2 separate regions of the Homo sapiens genome follow, and region 2 is linked to region 1. Evidence: promoter capture Hi-C in 16 types of primary human blood cells and fetal thymus (Javierre and others, 2016). All regions are on one chromosome and are shown on one strand. Each heading gives the region's core, a stretch centred on a gene start or on the middle of the fragment in contact. The rest is flanking DNA. Distances are from core to core; before and after follow the strand shown. Region 1 holds the start of MS4A12 (membrane spanning 4-domains A12). Region 2 overlaps MS4A6A (membrane spanning 4-domains A6A).

Region 1 (7,443 bases), core at 2,322-4,821:
GGTACTATAACTCCTGCCCTTAGAAGTTAGAGCATGTTTGAAGAAATCACAAATCAGAACACAACATAGAAGAATCACACTGTTAATGGCACTAACCACATGATTACAGGAGAGAACAGTGCAGAAGTCTTACCAAGATTTGCTGCATGGAGATGGGTCTGAAAGGCCAACAGGAGAAGGAAGGGGATTCTAGGTTTAAAAGACACTATTTCTTTTTTCTTTTTTTATTTTTTATTTTATTTTATTTTTTTGAGAGGGAGTCTCGCTGTGTCACCCAGGCTGGAGTGCAGTGGCGCAATCTCGGCTCACTCCAACCTCCGCCTCCCAGGTTCAAGTGATTCTCCTGCTGCAGCCTCCCAAGTAGCTGGGATTACAGGCGTGTGCCACCACACTCAGCTAATTTTTGTATGTTAGTAGAGATGGGGTTTCACCATGTTGGCCAGGCTGCTCTCAAACTCCTGATCTCAAGTGATCCACCCACCTCAGCCTCCCAAAGTGCTGGGATTACAGGCGTGAGCCACTGTGCCCAGCCTGACATTATTTATTTTCAACTTTCTCTTCCTGCTGCCTGGATAACATGAATAAGGTTGATCATGTTATACCTTTCCAGACAGTAATCATGATTCTGTGGGCTTTCAAAAACAATGCTTACTTCATTTTCCTTTAAATACCTTCAAGCCTTTCAGCAATATTATTGCCTGAAATTGTCATTTTCTTAAGCTCATAACATTAATAAATCTTCAGCATCTTTTTTCTATTTTAGAAAAATATATAAAAATGTAAACCCACAAGAGAAAGAAAACTCTCAATAATACACAAAAAAAGAAAAAAGAATCTGCACTCATGCCACCAACTCTTTTAATGTATATTTAATGAGCCTTAACATGTGTGAGACACTGTGCCATACATGGAGTTGGAGGTGGGGATAGATATCAGCCCCTGCCCCAAGGATCTCTGGTCTCAAGGTACTCATTTGTACCTGAGATACAACCTAAAATAAATAACTGGAATGTGACAGGACACTTCCAAAAAATAAAACAGCACGCCACTATTAAGAATTACAATAAATAGGCCAGGTGCGGTGGCTCACACCTGTAATCCAGCACTTTGGGGGGCCTAGGCGGGCATATCACAAGGTCAGGAGATCGAGACCGTCCTGGCTAACATGGTGAAACCCCGTCTCTACTAAAAATACAAAATATTAGCCGGGCATGGTGGCGGGCGCCTGTAGTCCCAGCCACTCCGGAGGCTGAGGCAGGAGAATGGTGTGAACCCGGGAGGCAGAGCTTGCAGTGAGCCGAGATCGCGCCACTGCACTCCAGCCTGGGTGACAGAGCAAGACTCCATCTCAAAAAAAAAAAAAAAAAAGAACTACAATAAATATGTTTATCGACATGAAAAGATATTTATAGGACATTAAGCTTAAAAGCAGGTTATGAAGTATATATACATTATGATCCTAACTTGATTTTACTATGTAAAATACATACATGCGCACACAAAAGTTTACAAATCAAAATGCAAATACTATCATTAATTATGTCTGCGTGGTGAGATTGAGTGCTTTTTCTCTCCTTTTTTTATTATCTGCATTTTCCAATTTTGTCCACCTAATTTAAAAGGCATTAAAATGCAGTATGGCTCTCCCTCTCCCTCTCCCTGTCCCTCTCCCTGTCCCTCTCCCTCTCCCTCTCCCTCTCCCTCTCCCTCCCTCTCCCCCTCCCCATGGTCTCCCTCTCCCTCTCTTTCCACGGTTTCCCTCTGATGCCGAGCCGAAGCTGGACTGTACTGCCACCATCTCGGCTCACTGCAACCTCCCTGCCTGATTCTCCTGACTCAGCCTGCCGAGTCGCCACGCCTGACTGGTTTTCGTATTTTTTTGGTGGAGATGGGGTTTCGCTGTGTTGGCCGGTTTGGTCTCCGGCTCCTAACCGCGAGTGATCCACCAGCCTCAGCCTCCCGAGGTGCCGGGATTGTATACGGAGTCTCGTTCACTCAGTGCTCAATGTTGCCCAGGCTGGAGTGCAGTGGCGTGATCTCAGCTAGCTACAACCTCCACCTCCCAGCCGCCTGCCTTGGCCTCCCAAAGTGCCGAGATTACAGCCTCTGCCCGGCCGCCACCCCGTCTGGGAAGTGAGGAGCGTCTCTGCCTGGCCGCCCATTGTCTGGGATTTGAGGAGCCCCTCTGCCTGGCTGCCCAGTCTGGGAAGTGAGGAGCGCCTCTTCCCGGCCACCATCCCGTCCAAGAAGTGAGGAGCGTCTCTGCCCAGCCGCCCATCGTCTGAGATGTGGGGAGCGCCTCTGCCCTGCCACCCCGTCAAGGATGTGAGGAGCGCCTCTGCCCAGTGGCGACCCCGTCTGGGAGGTGAGGAGTGTCTCTGCCCGGCCGCCCAGTCTGAGAAGTGAGGAGCCCCTCCGCCCAGCAGCCGCCCTGTCTGAGAAGTGAGGAGCCCCTCCGCCCAGCAGCCGCCCCGTCTGAGAAGTGAGGAGCGTCTCCGCCTGGCAGCCACCCCGTCCAGGAGGAAGGTGGGGGGCCAGTCCCCGCCCAGCGAGCCGCCCCGTCCGGGAGGGAGGTGGGGGGGTCAGCCCCCGCCCGGCCAGCCGCCCCCTCCGGGAGGGAGGTGGGGGGCGCCTCCGCCCAGCCGCCCCTTCTGGGAAGTGAGGAGCCCCTCTGCCTGGCCATCACCCCGTCTGGGAGGTGTACCCAACAGCTCATTGAGAACGGGCCATGATGACGATGGCGGTTTTGTGGAATAGAAAAGGGGGAAAGGTGGGGAAAAGATAGAGAAATCAGATTGTTGCTGTGTCTGTGTAGAAAGAAGTAGACATGGGAGATTTCATTTTGTTCTGTACTAAGAAAAATTCTTCTGCCTTGGGATGCTGTTGATCTATGACCTTACCCCCAACCCTGTGCTCTCTGAAACATGTGCTGTGTCCACTCAGGGTTCAATGGATTAAGGGCGGTGCAAGATGTGCTTTGTTAAACAGATGCTTGAAGGCAGCATGCTCGTTAAGAGTCATCACCACTCCCTAATCTCAAGTACCCAGGGACAAAAACACTGCGGAAGGCCGCAGGGTCCTCTGCCTAGGAAAGCCAGAGACCTTTGTTCACTTGTTTATCTGCTGACCTTCCCTTCACTATTGTCCTATGACCCTGCCAAATCCCCCTCTGTGAGAAACACCCAAGAATGATCAATAAAAAAAAAAAAGAGACTATAAACATAATTTGAGTGTTTAGAAATTTAAAAATAAAATCCCAGTAAAAAAAATAAATAAATAAAAATAAAAATAAAAAAATGCAGTATGATATTGCAATGATTGAGCATTAGAAAGCTGGAGAAAATAAATACTAAAGTGTTTGGGAGGGTCACAATAGGCTTCCCAGTAAAAATTAGAGGAGGATGTGAAAGCACAGCGTATTCCAAACTTTACAGTTGCATTTACATCTCTTGAGGTGAAAGAGAAATAACCATAAAAGGACTCTGGAACTACATAAAGATACAAGACAAATTGGTTTGGAGAACGGAAATAAAATCTACCTATAAAATCCAGGTAAATATCTGATACTGGCACACAGGTTGGAGCAGAGAAAGAGGAAACATAGAGGTGCCAAAGGAACAAAGTAAGTCCATTGATACGTTCTTGCCTATCTCTCCTCCAAATCAATGGGCACAAACTGTGGCTGGTCTACCTGTGTGGGTTCTGTTCTCTAGATTGGAGGGATGAAGACAAGTTCTTGACTCTATGTTGAGGCCAGTTGAAAAATGAGGGAGAATAAAACCATGAACGAAACAAGAAAGAAACAAAACAGAAGAGGAATGAAAAAGTAAGTTGGTTGCTGTACAAGAGATAAAACGGACTGCAAAAAGAAAAAAAAAGCTAATGCTCGCTGGGTGCGGTGGCTCACACCTGTAAACCCAGCTCTTTGGGAGGCCGAGGCAGGAGAATCACCTGAGGTCAGGAGTTCGAGACCAGCCTGCCTAACATGGTGAAACCCCATCTCCACTAAAAATACAAAAATTAGCTGGGCGTAGTGGCAGGTGCCTGTAATCCCAGCTACTCGGGGGGCTGAGGCAGGAGAATCACGTGAACTCGGGAGGCGGAGGTTGCAGTGAGCCGAGATCGCTCCATTGCACTCCAGCCTGGGTGACAAGAGTGAAACTCCATCTTAAAAAAAAAAAAAAAAAAAGCTAATGCTAAGAAAGGTGAATAATAGGTTCAACTGTATGCCATTCCATGAACATGGGCCCAAAAGGACGAGGCCATGCCCCACTGGGCACTTGATGATTATGTGGCTACCACAGGGACAACATAGAACACAGAAGTAATACTGGAGCCCTTGGCTTTGTAACACATTTTAATTAAGGTACTTCTTTCTGACAAGAAAACAATTAAAATTAAAATAGGTAGGGAAAGAACATTCATTTTCACCAGATCAGCATTTTGTGAAAGGTGATATAAGTGTATACCTGTGGATGTACTGGGTGATTTTGTGAAAATGATTCGGTTTCATGTTTTGCTTTATGCTATAAAGTACTCTTGAAAATAATAATCATCTTCACTCTGTCAAAAGTGAAGTTAGCATGAAAATGAGGTAGAAAGAAACTATAAAGAAGTAAATTTTTCCCATTTTTATTTGAAATAATGTAATCACAGAGCAAATTGCTGAGGTTTTCTCTAATTGCTTTAGTCTTATACTTTTGATCTCATCAGAGCTCCAATATTTTTATGTGTTCCTTGTTCTTAAAAATAATTGCAGTTGTTCTAATTCTTATTTTTAAAAAAAGGACAACTAGGGGTAAATATTTTGTCAACTGTCAAGAGAACAATCCTACTAAGTCAATAGGTGGAATCTATAAAAGGAGTCTATTTATTAGTTTCCCTTCTCATGTATCATTTACAGAATTGTCTTCATTTCAATTGAATAATTAAAGAATCAGAACTGGCTGGCTCTGTCTTTAATTCCTTTTATAAAACCAGAACTTGACCCAGTAAAAATGTATTCTGAGTCCTAATAACTATAGACCTAGCCATGAATAATCTGGGTTCTATGTGAAATTTACAGATCTTAGTCCAGAAACTAAACAGCAGATATGAAAGGAGAAACTGTTGATAAATAAATGAAAAGTATTGAGTTTTCCTCATAAAATTTCTCGAGACAAAAAAAAAGCAATGATCAACAGCAAAGGAGAATGTAATGAAATCATATACATGCAGAAACGTGGACAATTCTTTAATTGTATGCTTTTTAAAAGCTCAAAAAAATTCTTGTTCTGGTTAATTACTGTACTCTGAGTACCCATCTCCTATTTCTTTGCTCTTGAAATTGACCCTGTTCAATTCCTTTTATAAACTTTTCCTATGGCCACATCCACTGCCTAAAACAAGATAGAATACCTTGGGATCTAATAATAAAATAATAGTTCCTTTTTAAGCTCTTGCCATGTGCTAGGCACTGTTCCAACAGTTTTGCATAAATTAGGATAATTTGAACTTTAGACTAGCCTCCTTAGGTACCTTCTGTCATTTTACAGTTGAGACATAGGAACTAACAGGGATTTCATTAAGAAACTTGCTTAAAGTCCCAGACTTAGTGAAGTAGCAGATTGAAGATTAGAAAAGAGGGCTTGAGCAATATTTGGCCACCGAAACCAGATCCATAGGATGTATAACCTCACATTCTCAAATGCTATTGAGAGTTACGTGGTGTTACTCCAAGAGTCACAGCTATGGACTTGTTTCCTTTTTCCTTGTTTAAAATAAACTTTTGTGGGCTCAAATGTGTTTACATTTTTTTTTTTTTTGAGATGGAGTCTCGCTCTGTCACCCAGGTTGGAGTGCAGTGGCACGATCTCGGCTCACTGCAAGCTCCACCTCCCGGGTTCACACCATTCTCCTGCCTCAGCCTCCCATGTAGCTGGGACTACAGGCGACCACCACTACACCCGGCTAATTTTTTTTTTTTTTTTGTATTTTTAGTAGAGACGGGGTTTCACCATGTTAGCCAGGATGGTCTCGATCTCCTGACCTCGGGATCTGCCCGCCTCGGCCTCCTAAAGTGCTGGATGTGTTTCCATTTTGAAAAAAAAAATTCCTCTGTAATCAGATATTTCAGAAAGATGTTTTCTCCCTTTTCATTGAGTTTTCAACCATTTTCAGTTGCATCTAGTATCGGAGGGTAAGGGTTATGAGTACAGGTTCTGGATTAAATTCTCTCATTGTGAAATGGGGATTTTAGTAGAGTACCTATCTCATGGGGTTCTGTAAAGGGTACAGAGATAATGTATCTCATGCACTTAACATAGAAATAATAATAGAGCCAACCCTGTAATCGGCACAATTCCACATACTTTGCAGAGAATAACTCTTTAATACTCAAACTGACTCTCTAAGGAAGGTAGTCTTATTAGCTCTATTTTACAGACAGAAAACAAAGGCAAAGAGAGGTTAACAAACTTGCCAAAGACACAAAGTTGGAGTTAGATCCCAAGTTCATGTTCCTAAACATGACACTATACAGACCCTACTGTGCCTATAATAAGTCTTTAATAAATGTTAGCTCTCTATACACCTCACCTAAAGCTTGCTAAAGAGAATCCTTACTAACTCACTCAATCACAAAGAAGTTAATCCGGTTTATAAACTCCTCTCCATGGCATCAGAAGACAGAAGTTTTGTTGTTGGGTAGTTGCAGGAGCAGAGTCAATACCCTGTCACCAAGGCTGGCCTGGAAAACAAGCTGCAAATGTCCAGAGTGATGCTGCATGGAGGGGGATTCTGAACCAACAGCCAAGAATCCCATTTTCAAGTCCTAACTCTGCCACATGTTTTCTGTGTAACCTTGAGCATGTCACTTAACGACTCAGCTTCAATTTCTCATCTGTAAATCAAGGGGAATGAGACAGGATAAATGGAAAGGGTCTTTTCTACCCTAAAATTTCTGGATTCTATGAGCACAGGGTCTGCATATGTGTCCTTGTTAGATACCAGTGATACATTGTACCAATAGGTTATTCATAGTATTCATACTTCATACCAAGAATGAGACATTCATCACTCTAACTTTCTTGATATTCATAAGCACAAGAAAATTGTTGTGCTTTTGAAGACCTCAAAAAAAGGAATCTAAGGCTAAAGACAAATTTTTTAAGTGTCATAATTTTTTTCAAGAATTAATAGTCATTGTTGTCCATATTCAGTTGTACTGGCTTATTTCCAACAAAATTTCCCTTGCCTACATGGGGCCTGAGATGCTCTAAGCTTTCAGAAGGACAGAAATGAATAAAAGCATTTTTCCTAAAGAACAGAAGAATCATCTTAAGTGGGCATATGTGAACTATCTAGTTTCCCAATTACTGGCAAACAATTTTAATCTTGGACTGCCCTCCTTGCCATACAAGTATTGTATTACTTGGCCCCTGTATTAGTTTTCTATTTGTTGAT
Region 2 (7,443 bases), core at 2,596-5,095, 320 kb before region 1:
AATAATAGTTAGTGCCCTGTATATATCCCTAATTTCACTGTCATCTCTGTTTCTCTTATTTGACATAGTGTCTGGTATCCAATAAGCGTCAATAAAAGTTGAATGTCCACAGTAGGTAAATAAATAAAAGAAATGGTGTGTGTCAGTGGGGGGTGCAATGGACAGGGAGAAGACATAATGAACGAGAGTTTGAAGATAAAGCTAAAATCAAAGAATCTGACAGTCCAGTTTCAGCCTGGAAAAGAAAACAGCAGAAAAGCTGAGTATCAGGATATCTGATACAGTGGGTATGACCCCTGCTACAGTGGGTAAAAGCAAGGGAAACATGACCAGTTCTTTCAATGAAATGGAGCTCATGTAAAATTGAAATACTTTTCTACGTGTGTGTGTGTACACACATGCTGAAACTTAATATTTATACACAAACAATTGGTCTTTCTTGCAATAAGAAAATAAGTATGAACTGGTCGATGCTTCATAAAAAATGAGTATTCCTGGTTAGCTTTTGTTTGCTCATTAGTTTTGTTTGAATATTTGATGGGGAGAAAATGGAGTTCCAATTTGGGTTTATGTCTGTCATTGTTGACTTATTCTGTGTTTAAGGGAAAAAACAACAAAACGAGTGTTAAAACAAAATATGCACTCAAAAATTTTATTTTGAAGCCAGCTACTTTCATATACCCTGAGACTTCATTATATGGGGCTTGCCTTTATGCACTAATGAGTTAAAATACATAGGATAAAACACTAGCACCTGTATAAAAAAGTCTGAGCACCACAACAAATCAGTTAACTCCTGTTGACAATTAAGGGGTACAATAAAAAGTTGTGTCCTTTGCTTCACTGTGATCCATTGAATGATCATTCTGTCTAGTTTTCTGGGAAACATTTTCTGGGAAATGTTTCTGGGAATGATCATTCTGCCTTGTTTTCTGGAAATTCAGACTATTTGGCTAATCTAGTAAATGGTAATTTACAGCCCCGTGCTTTTGCTGAAGTCAATGTCAGGCAAATCAAGAGATCCCCAATGAACACATATCTTAAATGACAGTGAAATAATGGTTTTTTTTAATGTTCATTACTTTAAAAGCTTACATTTAGGAAACTCAAGCTTTGCTTTTCTATAATGGTTAACTTTTCCATATTATCATAAGAATCAACTTTCTGATTAATATTTCTCCCTTTTTTCTTAAGAAGTCAATAGTTCTTCATATCCACAGTCATGAGTCATTTTTGAGGACATGCCAGAATTACCAATGTAACTGTGAGGCAGGAAAAGTACACTCTAGAAGAAACAAAATATGTTAGGTCTTCAGACTTCAATCAGGTTCAAGATAGATGTATATATGCCATTTTTCCAACTGTATACATAGAATTCTTAGCTAATCCAAGATAAGTAGAGCATATCACCAGGTTCTTCAAATAATTGCAATTTATCACCCTAGTATTCATTCTACACTCTATAATACAATTTTGGATAAATCAAGGCTTTTTAATTCAGTTAAATAAAGCCATAAGTCCATAGGGGTTTGATTCAACAATACATTTTTAATATAGCTTTAAAAAGGCAAACGAATTTTAAGATCACCAGGGGCAAATGCAGAGCATAAGACATTCACTGGATCCAGTTACGTGTGTAAATGCCCTTTACCAAGTCAATACTATTAAAGAGACTAGTGGTTGTGGCAGAAATTGTTTCTGCTTATAAGGGAGGCAAGCCAGGTTCTAGTGTCCTCAGCAAAGGCACAAACTCATAGCATAATGCCAGGCCAGTCATTTAACTTCCCAGAGTCTCATTCCCTTCGCTGACAAAATAGGAAGATTGAATCAGTTGATTTCTCATGATTAACTATTTTCATATCCAGTGAATTTTCAGCTTATCAGCTACTCAATTGCCATCTGCTTTTCTTCTCTGTCTTCCATCACAATGCAAATGCCCTCCCATGTGTATCTCATGACTGACTGATTGTTCCTTCTACCACTCTTGGTGACATACTCAACACAGTGCAGGGATAAGATACACTAGGCAAGGTTAAGTGAAGCCGGCCAGCACACTCACCCCAGGGAAGTCAGAGTAAGCCTGTTTCCACCGCAGCACAGCAGTGAGCACAGCTAGGCAGAATTCCAGCAGAGTGCAAATCAGCATCAGAGAGAGAGTTCCCTGAAAGTCAAGAAATAAAAGATTGATGTTGCTTAGGTCAGCTGAAGCCTTCATGCCTAGTTGAGAGGTGACCATAGAGATGAAGACCACCTCAACCATTAGAGAATGAAGAAAGGACACCATCAGGAAGATAAAACTGCTCCTCCCACACCTCACAATTGTCTTAATTCAACCCCTTAACTCATTTCCTTGAGAGGAGAAAGGGAGATGAATAGTAATTAAATCAACTAATCTACTTCATACACTTATTTCTTACTTCTTTGAGACATCCATAGTTCTGATGACATTGTTCACTCGGTAAGAAAGCAGAGTGGCGTAATAACTCCCAGGACTGAGAATCAGCAGCTCCGTTCCAGTCTCACCTTTACTGCTTAGTAGCTGTGTAAGCCTGGACAAGTCTCTCTCTTTCTCTAGCTCCTGTTTCCTCATGTATCAAACATGCATACTAACATTTCTTTCTCAGAAATTTGTAAGGATCAAGGAGGTTTTGACTGTGCAAGTCCTTTGTAAAATTTAGTATTGACATCCCTGTCTATGTATCTGAACCCCTTTGTATTTCTTCTTGATTTTTGTTGTTGTTTCTTTGTTGTTTTTTCTTTTTTTTCTTTTTTTTGGGGGTGTAACTGTAAGGCTTAGAAAAAAACAGTGAAGGTAGTAAACTGTCAGAGTTGCTAATCACCAACACCAACTCACAAGAATGAATTCTATCATTTCTGTCCTGAGACATTCTTTGTGCAGAACTGGCCATCTGATAATAAACGGAAATAATTTGATCACATGAAACTTTGGTTTGTGGTATTTATACACAGTTAAAGAGAAGATATAACTTTTTCCATTACTGGAAATTGTTCCAGCAAGCAAACTTGACAGAATCTCTCTTATTTCCAATGTAAAATCGTCCCATCATGAATTTATACTTTATCACTACCAAATTTCTCTGAAATTTCTCTTCAGAATTTTTCCCAAGGTGGAATTGGCTGTGCCAGGTATTAATCTGTGCCAATTGCTGTCAGCCTCATTTACTTGTACTTTTTCTCATTATACCATTACCTTGGGAGCAAGGCCCTCTTTATAATGAGTGCTATACAAACATGACTTTGACCAGACCTTTCTATCTGTCCATCTTCCAGCTGAGTTCTTGGCTTATCTTGTTTTTATGATTGCAGGACAACAAATATTCTGCAATTTCTTTATTCCTTTTTTTTTTTTTTTGAGACGGAGTCTTGCTCTGTCACCCAGGCTGGAGTGCAGTGGCGTGATCTCAGCTCACTGCAACCTCCGCCACCTCCCAGGCTCAGGTAATTCTCCGCCTCAGCCTCCCAAGTAGCTGGGATTACGGCTGCCCGCCACCACACCCAGCTAGTTTTTGTACTTTTAGTAGAGATGGGGTTTCACCGTCATGGCCAGGCTCATCTTGAACACCTGACCTCGTGATCCATGCACCAGGGCCTCCCAAAATGCTTGTATTATAGGGGTGAGCCACTGACCCAGCCGTCCCTTTACTCTTATGTTGCCTGTTTTTCTCTCAATGTGTTGCTGACCATGCACATGCCCCTTAATCTTTCAACTTCAGACATATTATTTCTATTAGCCAAACTTCATTATTTTTCTTCTTCCAAAGAGATAGAATTCTCCTGCAATCATTCTCAATTACACTCTCCATCTCCCTATATTTCTTATCTCCTGATTTAATATATCACACTTCTTTCAGCTATAACAAAAAGCAACAATAATGTTGCATTCTCACCTGATCAGTATTATTCATTATTGTGATCATTAGAAGAAGAAGCCCTTATCTTCTCATCCCATATTTCCTATCCTCTTTTTCTTAGTACTGAATCTGATGTCTTCTCAAACCAAATTAACTCCTTACCATGCACACATACTGTTTCCTTGTTGGCCTATTCTGATCTCCTGGGTCTTTCTGCTCTGTTTCCATTCTTAATTCACCACTCCATGTACCAAGATTCTCATTTTGATAAACTCATAATTTATGCCTCCAAAATTGGATTAGTTTGATAATTAAGAACCTCTACAAACAGTAAGTTTTAGTTTTTCATCATCAACCTTATTTAACATTTTCAATTCCACTCTATTAGTATGTAATCCCCTTAATCTCATCCCTGTAGTCCCCTTTGATTTACATAAACCTGGCTTTCCCCCAGATGCCCAAACCAGAACCAATAGAGAGATTTTCAAAAGAAGGAATAACAAGAAATCAAGGCTTTTGAATACCTCATAAGATTAGAACATCCCATCTAAAAATACTTACAGCCAGACTGGCTTTGGCTGTATAGCAGTCCGTGGTATAAAGTGAATCATGATAAAAGTAAGAAACATAACTTCTTGTTGGTATATTATTTTTGTCCAACTCACACTGCAGTGAGGCAGGATTTAAGGTGGCCTGTTTGACAGACAGGATAATGAAACCCACCAGGGCAGACAGAGCACTCAGAATGCTTCCAACCAGGCTGCTATGCACCTGAAAGAGAAATGTTGGGTAAGGATCATTGCTAATGACTCATGAATCTGTTATGCATCTTTGCCATTAAATTGTAAGTTATTCCCTTATCTGTCCCCTCAGGAGGTCTGGGATTGATCATTTATTGCTGTATGCCTCTCCAGTGTCCAGCAAAAATCTCTCAATCTCCAGGGTAATTCTTGGCTGAATGAATGACTATACGAACTGGTTCACCTTAAGCAGGACCTCAGTGGTGTGGTAGAGAATGTTACTCTCCTAAATTCTTTCCCCAGGACAGATAGCAGGGCTTTCATGAGGCTTTACCTGCAACATTACCAAGAGAGCGTGACCCAAAGTGAAGGTGGCAACGTACCAGATGCAGTTTCTCTCTCGCTCAACTCAAAAACCCCTGGCGGAAGCATCAGCCACATGGAAAAGATAGATCATGTATTAGCATGGTGCAAAAGTAATTGTGGTTTTTGCCATAAAACCACAATTATGTTTGCACCAACCTAATAGCTCACTCTCGCCTGCCCATTGCTTCTCTCAAAAGCACACCTCTCAAAGATGAGTGAGGGGGTGGTTCTGAGTCTCAGGCAGGCCCTGGAACATGGGCAGGCATATGATTGGCCACACTGAGTGCAGTATGGGGTGGCTGTGGGCAGAGGTCTAGGTGCAGGCCCAAGGATGGTGTAATGTGTGGGAGGCAGCGGGAAGTACAAGAAAAAGGTCTGAACTGGAGGTCAGAATATTGAAGTCACAGTACTAGACTTGCCTTGGTTTATTCCCTTGGGTAATCAGTTCCTTGATTTTATTTCCCACTCTGGTTCTCATTTATACATTTATGAAGTGAAGGGAATAGATAAACTAACCTCAGAAGTGACTTCTTTTGTACTCCAACTCACACAGAAAAGAGAATTGAGCTAAGAGTACTCTGAGAGCTATAGTTACAGGTAGGTAGGCTCCAGGGCACACCTCACAGCCATACAGTAGAATGTTACTTAATCCCACATGGGCACTTCTTCTTTTAGGAACTCACCAGTTGATACTCTGGGACCCCAATTTCCCAACATAATGACTGAAGTGTACACTCCTGGGCCTCCTAGTAGCCAGTAGTATTCTTGATGCCTAGAGTCTATATTTCTTAGAATAAGCTAGATTTGTCTTGAGATGGCACTCTTCTTCAATCTCAAAAAGGGCTGGTGCAATGTGTGACAAGAGTAGAACTCGCTAAAGCCTCGATGTCTCTGGTAAGTCTGAGCCCACCCCGAGACCACATCCTGCATCCTTGAGCTTCCTGCATGTTCACTGTGGGATTGTTCTCTGGAGTAACAGGCCCATATATTTCCTCCTAAAAGTTTGAAAGCACTACCCTTGTGCCAGGCTACTCAGTATGGTTGCCAATAGCCACATAGACTATCTATATTTAAAGTAAAATTAAGAGAAATTTTTATTCAGTTGCACTATATTTCACATCATCGATAGCCACATGTGACTGCCATATTGTACAGTACAGCTGTAGTGCATTTCCATCATCATAGAAAGTTACATTTCATTTCTATCATCATAGAAAGTTACATTTCATTTCCATCCTCAAAGAAAGTTAAATTAAACAGCACAGATCTAGTTAGTAGTTCCGAGTCTAACTGAGGGTTCCAAATAATAATCTCTAAATACCGATGAGAAAAAGAATTGGCATTTTTCTGGATGCCGTTTCTCACTTCCTTGCTGGCTTTGGGAGATTTTTGTAGCCAGAGCTTCCAAATTGAGTCTCGGTGCAATTGCATGGTATGACATTCTCTCACATAATCTCCAACATCAACCCCTTGAGAGATAATGGATTGAGCGAAGACTTAATGAAACTTTAAAGACAAGAGAAGATTCTCCCTATAATCCAGGCTTTGTCTCCCTGCCACTTCCAACTCTAGTTTTTGCTGGAATAAGGGATAAAGACGGGTAAAGCTTTGTTTTTTGTTGTTGTTGTTTTGTTTTTTTGTTAGCCAATACAAATGACTAAGGACAACTTTTTAGGGTGCAAGAATTTATACTCAAACAAAATAAAAGTATTATACTTCTGGTGAGATAGATGAAAGGATACAGTCAGCCAGCACTACCCAAAACTATTGAAGTCCTCAAGGAAAAGGAAAATCTGAGAAAGTCTAAAGGAACCTGAGGAGACATCAGGCCTAAATGTAATGTAGTATACTGTAGTAGCCTCTGTGTCTACTTTGGATACCTCACATGAACAACACTTTGACTCATTTTTTTTTCAAGGGTTGTAACACCTGGGCTTAAAGAATGGACCCCAACCAATAGACCGCTTTATAACACTGTCAGCTTCCTTGCCACTGAAAACCTGAATTTGAAGGCCAGTTATCACCGAAAGAACCTCATAAACAGGCACAATTTCTCTGTGATACATTCTTCGGCATGGGCAGAGGGAATATTATAATCCCCTGAATGCAGACTTTGATGTAGGGTACAATAATTGGAGAAATGTTCTCTGAACAAGGATACAGAGGATCCAGGCCCAGCTCCTAATTCTAACAACAACCAACTGCTCTGGAACTGAGTTTTCAACTTTTCAAAGTAGAAAGACTAGCCTTAAAGAGTTCTGTCTAAGTTTTATTTTGATCCATTGGGTTGTGGGTTATAGCTCTCTTACTCACCAAAAGCTTGGTTAACCTTTTCTCTGTGGCGATTGATAGAGAGCCAGAGATGATAAACTAAGATAAAAGAGAAAATGGTCAGGTCAGATTCCATGTACAGAGTACCTTCGACGTCACTATCACAATGTTTATAGACAACTCTCATGGGAAAA

What was found. Contacts are between HindIII fragments. The CHiCAGO score rates a contact against its expected background, and 5 or more counts as called.
Region 2: a fragment that was not itself captured here is called in contact with the fragment with the promoter of MS4A12 in region 1 in 1 of 17 cell types (M0 macrophages); the score reaches 5.8 in M0 macrophages.

What each region holds. Positions count from the first base shown.
Region 1 is chr11:60,489,207-60,496,649 of GRCh38, forward strand. It overlaps MS4A12 (membrane spanning 4-domains A12), which reads left to right and starts at 3,572. Exons shown (of 7, transcript NM_017716.3): 1 at 3,572-3,622. RefSeq lists enhancers at 1,818-2,557, 2,558-3,295. The HindIII fragment of the contact is 5,161 bases long and covers 1,420-6,580 here.
Region 2 is chr11:60,170,969-60,178,411 of GRCh38, forward strand. It overlaps MS4A6A (membrane spanning 4-domains A6A), which reads right to left. Exons shown (of 6, transcript NM_022349.4): 4 at 7,292-7,348; 5 at 4,434-4,643; 6 at 1,529-2,161. The coding sequence ends at 2,033. Among named protein-coding and RNA genes, the nearest start is that of MS4A6A, 8.4 kb to the right of the region's middle. The HindIII fragment of the contact is 5,473 bases long and covers 1,110-6,582 here.